Regions from separate parts of the Homo sapiens genome. Here regions 2 and 3 are each linked to region 1. The links are contacts of gene promoters, found by promoter capture Hi-C in blood cells and fetal thymus (Javierre and others, 2016). All regions are on one chromosome and are shown on one strand. The core of a region is centred on a gene start or on the middle of the fragment in contact, and the rest is flanking DNA. Distances in the headings are between cores, read along the strand shown. Region 1 holds the start of NRAS (NRAS proto-oncogene, GTPase). Region 2 overlaps LRIG2 (leucine rich repeats and immunoglobulin like domains 2). Region 3 overlaps LRIG2 (leucine rich repeats and immunoglobulin like domains 2).

Region 1 (3,783 bases), core at 1,284-3,783:
ATTAAGAAAACACAGTAACTCAAATGACAACTCTACTGCAGCCAGGAGGCTACAGATTAAGTACCCAGTGTATTTCACTAAGCTATGAACTGGACTGTTTTATTTGTGCTGTTTATTTTACTTAAAGAAATCTAAACATACCTCCACCAATTATAACCTGGCCCTATATACATCATTTGTGTTTATGACTAAATATACAAATACCTTTGTTTCAGAGAAGGTTTTTTTTTTATCATGACAGATGTACCTTTGGGAAATATTCCTGAATCAAATTCTTAAAGGTTCCAAACAAGGTATAGTTATGTTTAATTTCTCAGGAAGACAAACATGCATAGATCATATAAAAAATACTTTCATTTTGGTTTTATGGCAACAGGACTTTTACTTGTATTTTAATGTCATCACACTTGGAGAACTCTCTGGAGTACTGGAAGTGCTCTATACTGTTATCTGGGTGGTAGCTACATGACTATATAGAAACGCAAAAAGCACTGGGCTGTAGACATAAAATTTATGTATTTTACTTATGTAAATTGCTCAATAAATCAAACATTTAAAAATATTTAATTAAAATATTAAACATTTCATGTAAAATATTAAAGCTGTTAAGCTCAAAATAAAGATTTTGCCAAGGGTTAGCAACCAATTTTTTATAGTGGCTACATTAGAGTTAGTTTTCATCAATTAAACACGAGTAGCCAGATGGTAGGGAGGCCAGGTGTTGATTAAAATAATCTCTAAAGTTAGGCATTTCTAAACTGAACAAAATTACAAAACCCTTTATTTATTTATCTATTTATTTATTTTTTGAGACGAAGTCTCGCTCTGTTGCCCAGGCTGGAGGTCTGTGGTGTGATCTCGGCTCACTGCACCCTCTGCCTCTGGTTCAAGCGATTCTCCTGCCTCAGCCTCCTGAGTAGCTGGGATTACAGGTGCCTGCCACCACACCCAGCTAATTTTTGTATTTTTAGTAGAGACGGGGTTTCACCATGTTGATCAGGCTGGTCTTGAACTCCTGACCTTGTGATCCGCCTGCCTCAGCCTCCCAAAGTGCTGGGATTACAGGCGTGAGCCACCGTGTCCGGCAAAACCCTTTATTTAAAGAGCCTTAGGTGCCACTTACTGAAGACAATCTGTACCATGAACTCTCATAATAACAATAGAATCCCTAAGTACTATTACATAGTGCTTTACCATTCATAAATAACTTAAATATATTATTTAACTTTCCATAACATCCCTGTGTGGTAGGCAGGACAAGTTTATGGTAATTTAAAACATGAGGAAAATGAGGTTGGGAGAGATTCAGTTGCTCAATATCACACAACTAAATAAACTGCAAACAGGGACCAAAATCCTAGGCATAAAGACTAAAAATCTCAAGTTCTTGCTACTCCAATCATCTGGTCTCAGCTGCTTCAACTAGCTAATAAATAAATATTGAAGAACACTCATCTCTGAATCCTTTATCTCCATCCTATTATCTCCCATACAATCAGACAGTCTCGCTACTATGGCCTGTGTTTCTCATGTAATAGAGCTGTTATATATGAAGAAACTCATGAATGAACTCAACACTGAGTTTGCAATAGTTTACAGAACTGTTAAAAACTGGACAGGTTTTAGAAACTTCAGCAGCTAATAAAAATGAACTGTTCTCTATAAACACGTTAAGCTTATTGCATAACTGAATGTATACCCAAAATAACTTTTTACTTTCTCTCCTCTTATTCCTTTAATACAGAATATGGGTAAAGATGATCCGACAAGTGAGAGACAGGATCAGGTCAGCGGGCTACCACTGGGCCTCACCTCTATGGTGGGATCATATTCATCTACAAAGTGGTTCTGGATTAGCTGGATTGTCAGTGCGCTTTTCCCAACACCACCTGCTCCAACCACCACCAGTTTGTACTCAGTCATTTCACACCAGCAAGAACCTGTTGGAAACCAGTAATCAGGGTTAATTGGCGAGCCACATCTACAGTACTTTAAAGCTTTCTATAATCAATGGAAATGAAAACCCTAGTGTGACCTTCCATTTGGTTCTTAAAGTGACTAGAGAACGCAAAAACACCGGATTAATATCGGCCTCACACTTCTGGAGTAGTTTTCTAGCAACCCCCATCCTTAGCTATTTTTCAACAGTCCTTGGGCCCCGCCCTCAGCCTAAGCAATGGAAATCCCCCTTCCTATTACTCCCCGAAGGCTTCTCAGCTCTAGCAGGAAGCCTCCAGGCCGCAACTCCTTCCCATTCTCCCTTCTGTCTCCAAAGATCTCCCCACGTAGGCACCAAATGGAAGGACCCCCGCCCAAGGCCTTTGTCTCCAGCTGATAGATTCTGCTCCATTTCTGGCATCAGTGAAACGCCTGAACATTCCACAGCCCAAAGCCGAACACTATGCATGAGATAAACTTACCTCAAGCTCCACTGCCTCTGCTTTGGACAGATTTAGGACCACAGCCGGGAAAAATGTTGGAGACCCCGGAACCGCCATGAACAGCCCCCACCAAGGAGCGGCACTTCCGGCCCCGCCCGCTACGTAATCAGTCGGCGCCCCAGGCGCCTGAGTCCCCGCCCCGGCCACGTGGGCCTCCGAACCACGAGTCATGCGGCAGGCCGCACCCAGACCCGCCCCTCCCACACGGGACGTTTCAATAATGAAAGCGCTAGGTGCTAGTGTCTCAAAAATCAGTAAAACTTTATTCGCTTCCATTCTTTCGCCATTAACAGAAAACTGGAGAAAGCAAAAATGTTTCGTGTTTACAAAGATAAACGGCCTCTTTACCCAGAGATCAAAACCTCAAACGACAAGGGGGAAGATAAAACCGCCCTCCCCCACATCCCCTGAGCTGACCCTTGTCATCTTAGACAAAGCCTTCAGTCCACTGGCCAGGGACCCTGTATATGGCCAATTCAAGAAGAGGGCCAAGAAATCAGACCCATCCATTCCCGTGATATAAAGTTGAACAGAAGCTACACCAAGGGTCAAGTGTCTGTATTTTACAGGACACAGTAACCAGGCGGCTACTTATAAAAAAAAACAAGATTCATTTCAGGCACAACTTTTTTATTTTTTTTTGTTTTGTTTTTAAATCAGTAAAAGAAACCGGGTCCTAGAAGCTGCAGTGATCTAAGCAGCAGCAAGTTTGTGCATTCATTTTTTTTGTTTTTGTTTAAATATGTTTAAATTATCACACTGCTGGCACTCCTCATTTGCATGAAATTCTGCACCATACTTACTAATTGTAGTAAAGTTACCCCCCAACCCACGAAAAAAAACCTACTCTGGAAGAAAATTTTCACTGAAATATAACCAAACTTCTTTAAGTGGATTGTGACAAGATTATAAATGATATGAAAAATAACATTTTAAAATTTGGCCATCAACTTTAAGAAATGGTTTGCCTATACAAATTTTTGTAATTTTTAAAAGATAATATATTCTACCCTCATATGGTCCTCAGAATTAAAGCATAATGAACAGGAAGAAAAAGGAAAAGAATGCAACTGAGTGCTAAGGCAGAACATCTTGCCAGAAGTAATTAATGAAGGTAGAGTATATAATGAAAAGTGCAGAATTTCATAGGGCCAACAAGATAACAGTCTATATTTTTCACTTACACAGGCAAAGTGGATTCTGCAATTACCAGTTGCGTTAAATGCACCAAATAAAGCTCCTAAAATTGATACTATAAGGCGCCACCTTAAGTTTTTCCAGGCTGCAACTGTGCATTATTTAAAATGGTTTTCTTAAATTTATTTATTTTTTTAAACATAAC
Region 2 (4,238 bases), core at 55-2,554, 1.6 Mb before region 1:
CTGCACCTCAGATTTCCTGGCAGAAAGATGGTGGTACTGACTTTCCTGCGGCTCGAGAAAGACGCATGCACGTCATGCCCGAGGATGACGTCTTCTTTATTGCCAATGTGAAAATAGAAGATATGGGAATCTATAGCTGCATGGCACAAAATACAGCAGGAGGTCTCTCAGCAAATGCTTCCCTAACAGTGTTAGGTACGTTTACTGCTCCATGGGTCCCTGCTTTTGTTGGAGTCTTTGGGAGCTACTCTTGGTCTTAATGAGCAAGAAAAATAAGTTTGAGATTACCTCTGTGATTCTTAGATCTTTATCTTATTTCACAATTTTATGCAAGGTTATGTCAGTCTAGGAATTAGTGGGTCAGATAACTGAAATGTGGGAAAATACATAGGGCAAAATTAGGTAGGCATCCTTGTCACAATAATTGAAAGTTCAAATTCCTTTATCAGCTTATCTTTTTAAGTCCCTCTCTGTAAGGTTTCTGTTTCATGTAGGTGTGTTTACTATTCACTGAGTTTGCATTGAGAGTTCCACTGTTCTTTTAGGAGTATCCCAGCCATTTGATGCTGCTTCACTTATTGCTTGATAGGAACCTAAGACTATTTAACTGTTTGCTCCTAGTTCATTTTCAAAAAAAATTTAATACAAAAAAAAAAAAAAAAGATGTGTTTTCTGGTTAGAGTTTCTGCTTTCCTTTTCAGTGTGTTCTTCTTAACCCTATTTCTGGTAAAATGCCTTTTTTCCTAAAAATTTTCCCCTGCTGGCCTGGGTTTTTTTTGTTGTTGTTGTTTGTTTGTTTTGTTTTTTCTTCCTTATTACAATACTTTTCTTCGTGGAACTCAAATCCAGGGTAAATTCTACTTTCCAGTTCTCTATTTTCCTATATGTCAGTTATTATTATTATTTTTTTTAAGTTTGTTGGTTTGTATTGTTTACTTGTATAACCAGAAAAATAAGAAGTCATTTATTTATTTATTTATTTATTTATTTATTTATTTATTTATTTATTTATTTTGAGACGGAGTCTCATTCTGTTGCCCAGGCTGGAATGCAGTGGCGCAATCTCGGCTCAGAGCAACCTCCACTTCCCGGGTTCAAGTGATTCTCCTGCCTCAGCCTCCTGAGTAGCTGGTACTACAGGCATGTACCACTGCGCCCAGCTAATTTTTGTATTTTTTTTAGAGACGGGGTTTCACCATGTTGGTCAGGCTGGTCTCGAACTCCTGACCTCATGATCCGCCTGCCTCAGCCTTAGAAAAATAAGTCATTTATTGTTTTAACATGTTAAGATATACAGAAAATTAGGAAAAGGGGAGGAAAGTCACTCAAATACTTAAGGATTTTAGCATATTCTAGACTTTCCCCTCTCACTTTTATGTAGTCAAATATACCTACATTTTTTTCATTTAATATTGTACCACAAGTTGCCTTGTTATTAAAGTCTTTGTAAAAGATCATGTGACTATAATTTACTTAATCATTTTTCTGCTAGATTTAAAAATGTTTTTCTTTATTCTTTAAAGTTACACATTTTGTAGTAAACATCTTTGCGTATAAATCTTTGAATTTCTTTTTTTTTAAGTTATTTTTAATCTTTTTTAATGGGTCACCGCTGCTCACCCCCTCCAGCTATTGCAGCTGCCCTGAACTTCTTTCTTAGGATAGCTTGCCTAAGCTGGAATTATCGAGAAAAGATTGAGGCTTTTTTCAGGATTTTGTTCTGAAACATTAACTTCTAATCCTCCCATGAGTATATAAAATTACTCATTTTATTATACCCCCATTGGTCTAATTCAGTAGAAATTAGGGAATAAAATTGCCTAACTTTTCATTTTTTTTTTTTTTAATGTTTTCCTGTTAGAGACACCCTCATTTATTAGACCCCTGGAGGATAAGACAGTAACACGAGGTGAAACTGCGGTGTTACAGTGCATAGCTGGAGGGAGTCCTGCCCCTCGTCTCAACTGGACTAAAGATGATGGGCCTTTGCTGGTGACAGAACGACATTTCTTTGCTGCAGCCAATCAGCTTCTCATCATTGTAGATGCCGGGCTAGAAGATGCTGGGAAATATACCTGCATTATGTCTAACACCCTTGGGACAGAACGTGGCCACATTTACCTAAATGTCATTTCATCCCCCAATTGTGACTCTTCCCAGAGTAGCATTGGGCATGAAGATGATGGCTGGACCACAGTTGGCATTGTCATCATTGTTGTGGTCTGCTGTGTTGTTGGCACTTCTTTGATCTGGGTCATTGTTATTTACCACATGAGAAGGAAAAATGAAGACTATAGTATCACAAACACAGGTAAGTAGTACCCACATGACACCTATGGCTTGTACTTCAGTCAAGAATGTAGTATAGGATTAATTGTACAATATAAAAAACTGAGAGCTGGTCATAGTAGCACATGCCTGTACTCCCAGCTACTCAGGAGGATGAGGTGGGAGGACTGCTTGAGCCCAGGAGTTCAAGGCCCACCTGGGCAACATAGCAAGACCTCATCTTCCCCCTCAAAAAACTGAAGAGCTGTGATACATTACCTGATATGTGATAGAAGGGAGTTTTTGTTGTTAAAATGTTCAACTTCTTTGATATAACAGAACCTCTTTGAGGAATAGGTTCATAACAGAACCTCTTTGAGGAAAGAATTTTGTTTATTTGAGATAGGGTGTTACTGTAATGCCCAGGTCAGAGTGTATCGGTACATTCATGGCTCACTGCAGCGTTGACTTCCCAGGCTCAGGTGATTCTCCCATCTCGGCCTTCTGAGAAGCGGGGACTATAGGCATGTGCCACCGCGCCTAAGTTTTTATATTTTTAGTAGAGTCGGGTTTTGCCATGTTGCCCAAGCTGGTCTCAAACTCCTGGGCTCTAGCAATTTGTCCACCTTGGCCTCTCAAAGTGCTGGGATTACAGGCATGAGCCACTGCGTCTGACCAATTTTAAGAATTTGTAAATTTTTTTTTTTTTTTTTGAGATAGAGTCTCGCTCTGTTGCCAGGCTGGAGTGCAGCGGCATGATCTTGGCTCAATGCAACTTCCACTTCCCGGGTTCAAGCGATTCTCCTGACTCAGCCTCCCGAGTAGCTGGGACTACAGGCGTGTGCCACCATGCCCAGCTAATTTTTGTATTTTTAGTTGAGACGGGGTTTCACCATGTTGAACAGGATGGTCTCAATCTTTTGACCTCGTGATCCACCCACCTTGGCCTCCCAGAGGGCTGGGATTACAAGCGTGAGCCACCACGCCCGGCCAAACTTTACTTCTAAAAACGCATTACAGATGCATTCTTTTTAATGTCTAAGGCTCCTTTTCATCATAATTTTGCTGTAAGGAAGAGTGGAGCCCTTGTGATTGAGATCAGTCTCTTTTTTTCCCTTGAATATCAAACTGGATCATTGAGGTCAGTCTTTTACACCTCTCACCCTGGAATCCTGCAAGAAAAGAAATCTAGGCAGATAGATTATGAAAGTGTGGCAGTAGATAAGATTTCAACCTTTAGGTTTTGTTTCTTTCAATGAAACTTTTAAAGTGAAGCTTTGAGAAGAATTCTAGTGAGAAATAGTTTTAGGGGAAGTACCAAGAGCTGTTGCGGTCCTAGGTACGTACAGTTTTTCTTGCTAATAGTATCAAAGTGGAACACATTTGCAAAATAGTCTTCTGAGTGTTGGCTTCAACTGCCTACCTTTGAGAGTTAAAAATGTCTCTTTTACAGAGGAGCTCAATCTGCCTGCAGACATTCCCAGCTACTTGTCTTCCCAAGGAACGCTGTCTGAGCCACAGGAAGGCTACAGCAACTCTGAGGCAGGCAGTCATCAGCAACTTATGCCTCCTGCCAATGGATATATACACAAAGGCACTGACGGTAATGACTCTGTTGTTTATGGTTACAATTTCAGCCTATTCTATTGAGTTTACTTTTCAGTGTGTAGTTTCTCCATTAATCTGAAGCAATATTTTAAAGTAAGATACCTAATGAAAGCATTTAGCCACATGCAAAATAGGATGAAAATTGACTAAAGTCTTAAAAGGATATGAAAATCATCTTACAGAGTGGAGAAACACATTAAACAAGAGATCAGAGTACACAGCAGAGGCTCCCAAACTTGTGTAATTATAGGAAAGGGATATTCTGCAAACTTTTTTCAGGTATCTCTTTCTTACCCTTTTCAGGCGTGGGCATCCTTCAGACCACATCCAAGGGAGGCTGGTTTCTCTTCCTGACAGGTAGA
Region 3 (3,752 bases), core at 1,029-3,528, 1.6 Mb before region 1:
CAGTGGCAGCAGCTTCATTATAATCTTTGTTTTACAGAGTCCATAATATAATCCCAGAAATAAATGCACAGGCACTCCAGTTTTACCCTGCTCTGGAGAGTTTAGACCTCAGCTCAAATATAATATCAGAAATCAAGACATCTTCATTTCCTCGCATGCAGCTTAAATACCTGTAAGTAACACAGATTAAATTAGATTTACTTTAAAGCACATGTTTATGGGGACTGTTGTGGGGTGGGGGGAGGGGGCAGGGATAGCACTGGGAGATATACCTAATGCTAGATGACGAGTTAGTGGGTGCAGCGCACCAGCATGGCACATGTATACATATGTAACTAACCTGCACATTGTGCACATGTACCCTAAAACTTAAAGTATAATAATAATAAATAAATAAAAATAAAATAAAATAAAGCACATGTTTATTATTCATCAGTACCTATCCAAAAATATTTGGTTATTTATTGTGCTTTTTATATGCATATGTGAGACAAACCTAGAGTTGGTGTGTTGGGTGGTTGGCTTTGCCACTCACCCCACAAGCCCCCTAAAGAAAGATCGCACTATTGTCAGAAAATATTGGTAGATATCAAGGGTAATTTTGAGATTCAATTTTGTTTGTTTTTTTTTGAACCAAGCTTTCTAAAAGGTAAATAGAGATTTGTTAAACAATGGCTTACTGTATATAATGATAATTAGCATGTGTGCCAGTGTTTTCCAGTTTACAAAGCATATTCACACATGCTGTTTTGTAACAACCTAAATGAAGTAGGTAGCTTCTTAATTTTGTAGATGAAGAAACAGAGCAGTTAAATGATTTATAAAGTTGTGGATGGGCATTAAGTGATAGAGCTGGGGGCTTAGACATAGATTTTTGGCAGCTTTCTAGTGGTAGAATTTTTATTTTACTAAATTTTTTCTTTTGCTATTATCTTGTTTATTTTAGGAATTTAAGTAATAACAGAATAACCACCTTGGAGGCTGGTTGCTTCGATAATTTATCAAGTTCCTTATTAGTGGTAAAGTTAAACCGTAACCGAATGAGCATGATTCCACCTAAGATCTTCAAGCTGCCTCACCTCCAATTCTTGTGAGTAACGAAATAGACGGATTATAAGAAGATAGTTTTTTCTTACAGGGTCTTTTTCTTTTTAATTTAATTACTGTTAGAACATTTTAGCAAACCAATTTCCTGACTGTAAAACTATTTTTGTTAAAGGGAACTTAAAAGAAACAGAATTAAAATTGTGGAAGGTCTTACATTCCAAGGGCTTGACTCCTTAAGATCTTTGAAAATGCAGCGGAATGGAATTAGCAAACTTAAGGATGGAGCATTTTTTGGCTTGAATAACATGGAAGAACTGTAAGTACTCGGGACTAGAGGTGATTATTAGGAAAGTAGTCTGTTTGGGACTTTTCAGTGTCGAATGGCTAGGGTAGTTGTTCTGATTATAGAGATACATTCATTCATTCCCTGGTCACTGATGTGAAGTAAGCGTACATAAAACCTTTAAAGTTTTGTTAGCTAACTGATCAATTTTGAAATAATTCTTACAAACTTCTCATCTAAAAAGTTTATATATATATATATATTTTTTTTGAGATGGAGTCTCACTCTGTTGCCCAGGCTGGAGTGCAATGGCGTGATCTCAGCTCCTGCAACCTCTGCCTCCAGGTTCAAGTGACTCTCCTGTCTCAGCCTTCTGAGTAGCTGGGATTACAGGCGTGTGCCACCAGGCCCGGCTGATTTTTGTATTTTTAGTAGAGATGGGGTTTCACCATGTTGGTCAGGCTGATCTCGAACTCCTGACCTCATGATCCACCCACCTTGGCCTCCCAAAGTGCTGTGATTACAGGCATGAGCCACCGTGCCCGGCCAAAAAGTTTATATTCTTAATGTTTTGGCTAATGAAAATTACCAGAATTTATCCAAACAGGTATACTATACCACTTGGCCTGTTGGTTTTGTAGAGCTCCTATTTTAGACAGTCTTACTACCTTCTAGCACTAAATCTCTTTTTTTGTTGTCGTTGTTGAGATAGAGTCTTGCTCTGTTGCCAGGCTGGAGTGCAGTGGCACAGTCTCGGCTCACTGCAACCTCTGCCTCATGGGTTCAAGCGATTCTCCTGCCTCAGCCTCCCGAGTAGCTGGGACTACAGGCGCGCGCCACCGTGCCCAGTTAATTTTTGTATTTTTAGTAGAGATGGGGTTTTACCATGTTGGTCAGGGTGGTCTTGATCTTTTGACCTTGTGATCCGCCCACCTCGGCCTCCCAAAGTGCTGGGATTACAGGCATGAGCCACTGTGCCCGGCCAAGCACTAAATCTTAAATAAGATATTCATTTTTATTGAATAGAATTGGTCAGCTCAGTTGGGTTGAACAAAGGTATATGCTTCTCTGGGAAAAACTTAAGATTTAAAGCTAGTTATTGAACTGCCTTGTTTTGGAACGTATTTTCTTCTCTTTCTCTAATTCTGCAGAGAACTGGAACACAACAACCTTACACGAGTAAACAAGGGGTGGTTGTATGGCTTGCGAATGTTACAGCAGCTCTATGTGAGCCAGAATGCTATTGAAAGAATCAGCCCTGATGCATGGGAGTTCTGCCAAAGACTATCCGAACTGTAAGTGTTGGATAGCATTTCACTGGAGGCAGTTAAGACTAGAGCAGATTGGAATAAATCATTCCCATGGGCAGTAATGAGATGTAACATCCCTCTTTACTAGAAATTTGTAGAAAGCTCTAAATTTACCATGTAGATATAATAAGAATTGTAAGTTGAACCAAATACAATGAATTCCTTACCTTCCACATTTCTTGTTTTCAGTGATTTGTCCTATAACCAGCTGACCCGCCTGGATGAATCTGCCTTTGTGGGTCTGAGCTTATTGGAGAGATTGAATTTAGGAGACAACAGAGTCACTCATATTGCTGATGGTGTATTTAGATTTCTTTCCAATCTTCAGACATTGTAAGTATATCCATTCTCCTTTTTGGTTGTTGTTACTGATTTTTTTAGTACAATAAAGCAAATTAATTAAAACAACTAATCAGTCTGCAAATTCTGTATGCTAACATTTTGTGGTTCTTCTGTCCTATGCCTCAGAGCAAGGCAGTCTTATTTGTCTCCATCCCCATAAAAATCCCAAGCCTGTCGTAGGCAATTCAGTTTGTAGTTTAATTCTGAGTTAATCCCATAAGCATCAAAGCATGTCTTATTGTGTTAGTTGCTGTGGAATAAAACACAGTTGCTAGTGTCAGGAGAGCAGTCATTTTCTTGTTCCTTTGACTTTGACAATACACCAGAGCTACTAGTTCTCATTCGAAAGGATGCAGGTTGTGTAGTGGGAACTGCCGTGGTAGGAGACCAGTTCACTGTTACTGGTTTGCTACATGACTTTGGACAGAAGAAACTAATACTTATTATCTGATATGTGCCAGGTACTTTCAAATACTAGGATGATACTGCTGTTTTCCATATTAGGAGGCTGAGGTTCAGAGAAATTTAAATAATTTTCTCTAAGTCACATAGCTTGTAAATGTTGGGCCAGAATCAGATCCCAGGTCTGTTTGATGCTAAAGCTCATGTCCATTTTATCATACCAACAGAAGAACAAAATCACTTAGCTTTTCCTGGCCATCATTTTTTTTTCTCCTTTATACGGTGAAGGAAGGATATAGGATTAGATGGTTGCTAAAGGCAGTTTCCACGCTAAAATTCTGTGGTTCTGTAAGTTATTCAATTTACAG

Evidence for each region. Contacts are between HindIII fragments. The CHiCAGO score rates a contact against its expected background, and 5 or more counts as called.
Region 2: a fragment that was not itself captured here is called in contact with the fragment with the promoter of NRAS in region 1 in 4 of 17 cell types (M2 macrophages, monocytes, M1 macrophages and 1 more); the score reaches 9.2 in M2 macrophages.
Region 3: a fragment that was not itself captured here is called in contact with the fragment with the promoter of NRAS in region 1 in 4 of 17 cell types (M2 macrophages, total CD8 T cells, activated CD4 T cells and 1 more); the score reaches 7.6 in M2 macrophages.

The regions. Positions count from the first base shown.
Region 1 is chr1:114,714,238-114,718,020 of GRCh38, forward strand. It overlaps NRAS (NRAS proto-oncogene, GTPase), which reads right to left and starts at 2,534. Exons shown (of 7, transcript NM_002524.5): 1 at 2,421-2,534; 2 at 1,813-1,940. The coding sequence starts at 1,923. CSDE1 (cold shock domain containing E1) reads right to left here. Exons shown (of 20, transcript NM_001007553.3): 20 at 2,679-3,783. RefSeq lists enhancers at 2,230-2,329, 2,340-2,539. The HindIII fragment of the contact is 3,751 bases long and covers 1,996-3,783 here.
Region 2 is chr1:113,112,566-113,116,803 of GRCh38, forward strand. LRIG2 (leucine rich repeats and immunoglobulin like domains 2) reads left to right here. Exons shown (of 18, transcript NM_014813.3): 14 at 1-195; 15 at 1,862-2,311; 16 at 3,722-3,871. Among named protein-coding and RNA genes, the nearest start is that of LRIG2, 41 kb to the left of the region's middle. The HindIII fragment of the contact is 4,473 bases long and covers 1-3,541 here.
Region 3 is chr1:113,093,393-113,097,144 of GRCh38, forward strand. It overlaps LRIG2 (leucine rich repeats and immunoglobulin like domains 2), which reads left to right. Exons shown (of 18, transcript NM_014813.3): 4 at 38-172; 5 at 947-1,090; 6 at 1,220-1,363; 7 at 2,482-2,625; 8 at 2,830-2,973. Among named protein-coding and RNA genes, the nearest start is that of LRIG2, 22 kb to the left of the region's middle. The HindIII fragment of the contact is 3,284 bases long and covers 637-3,752 here.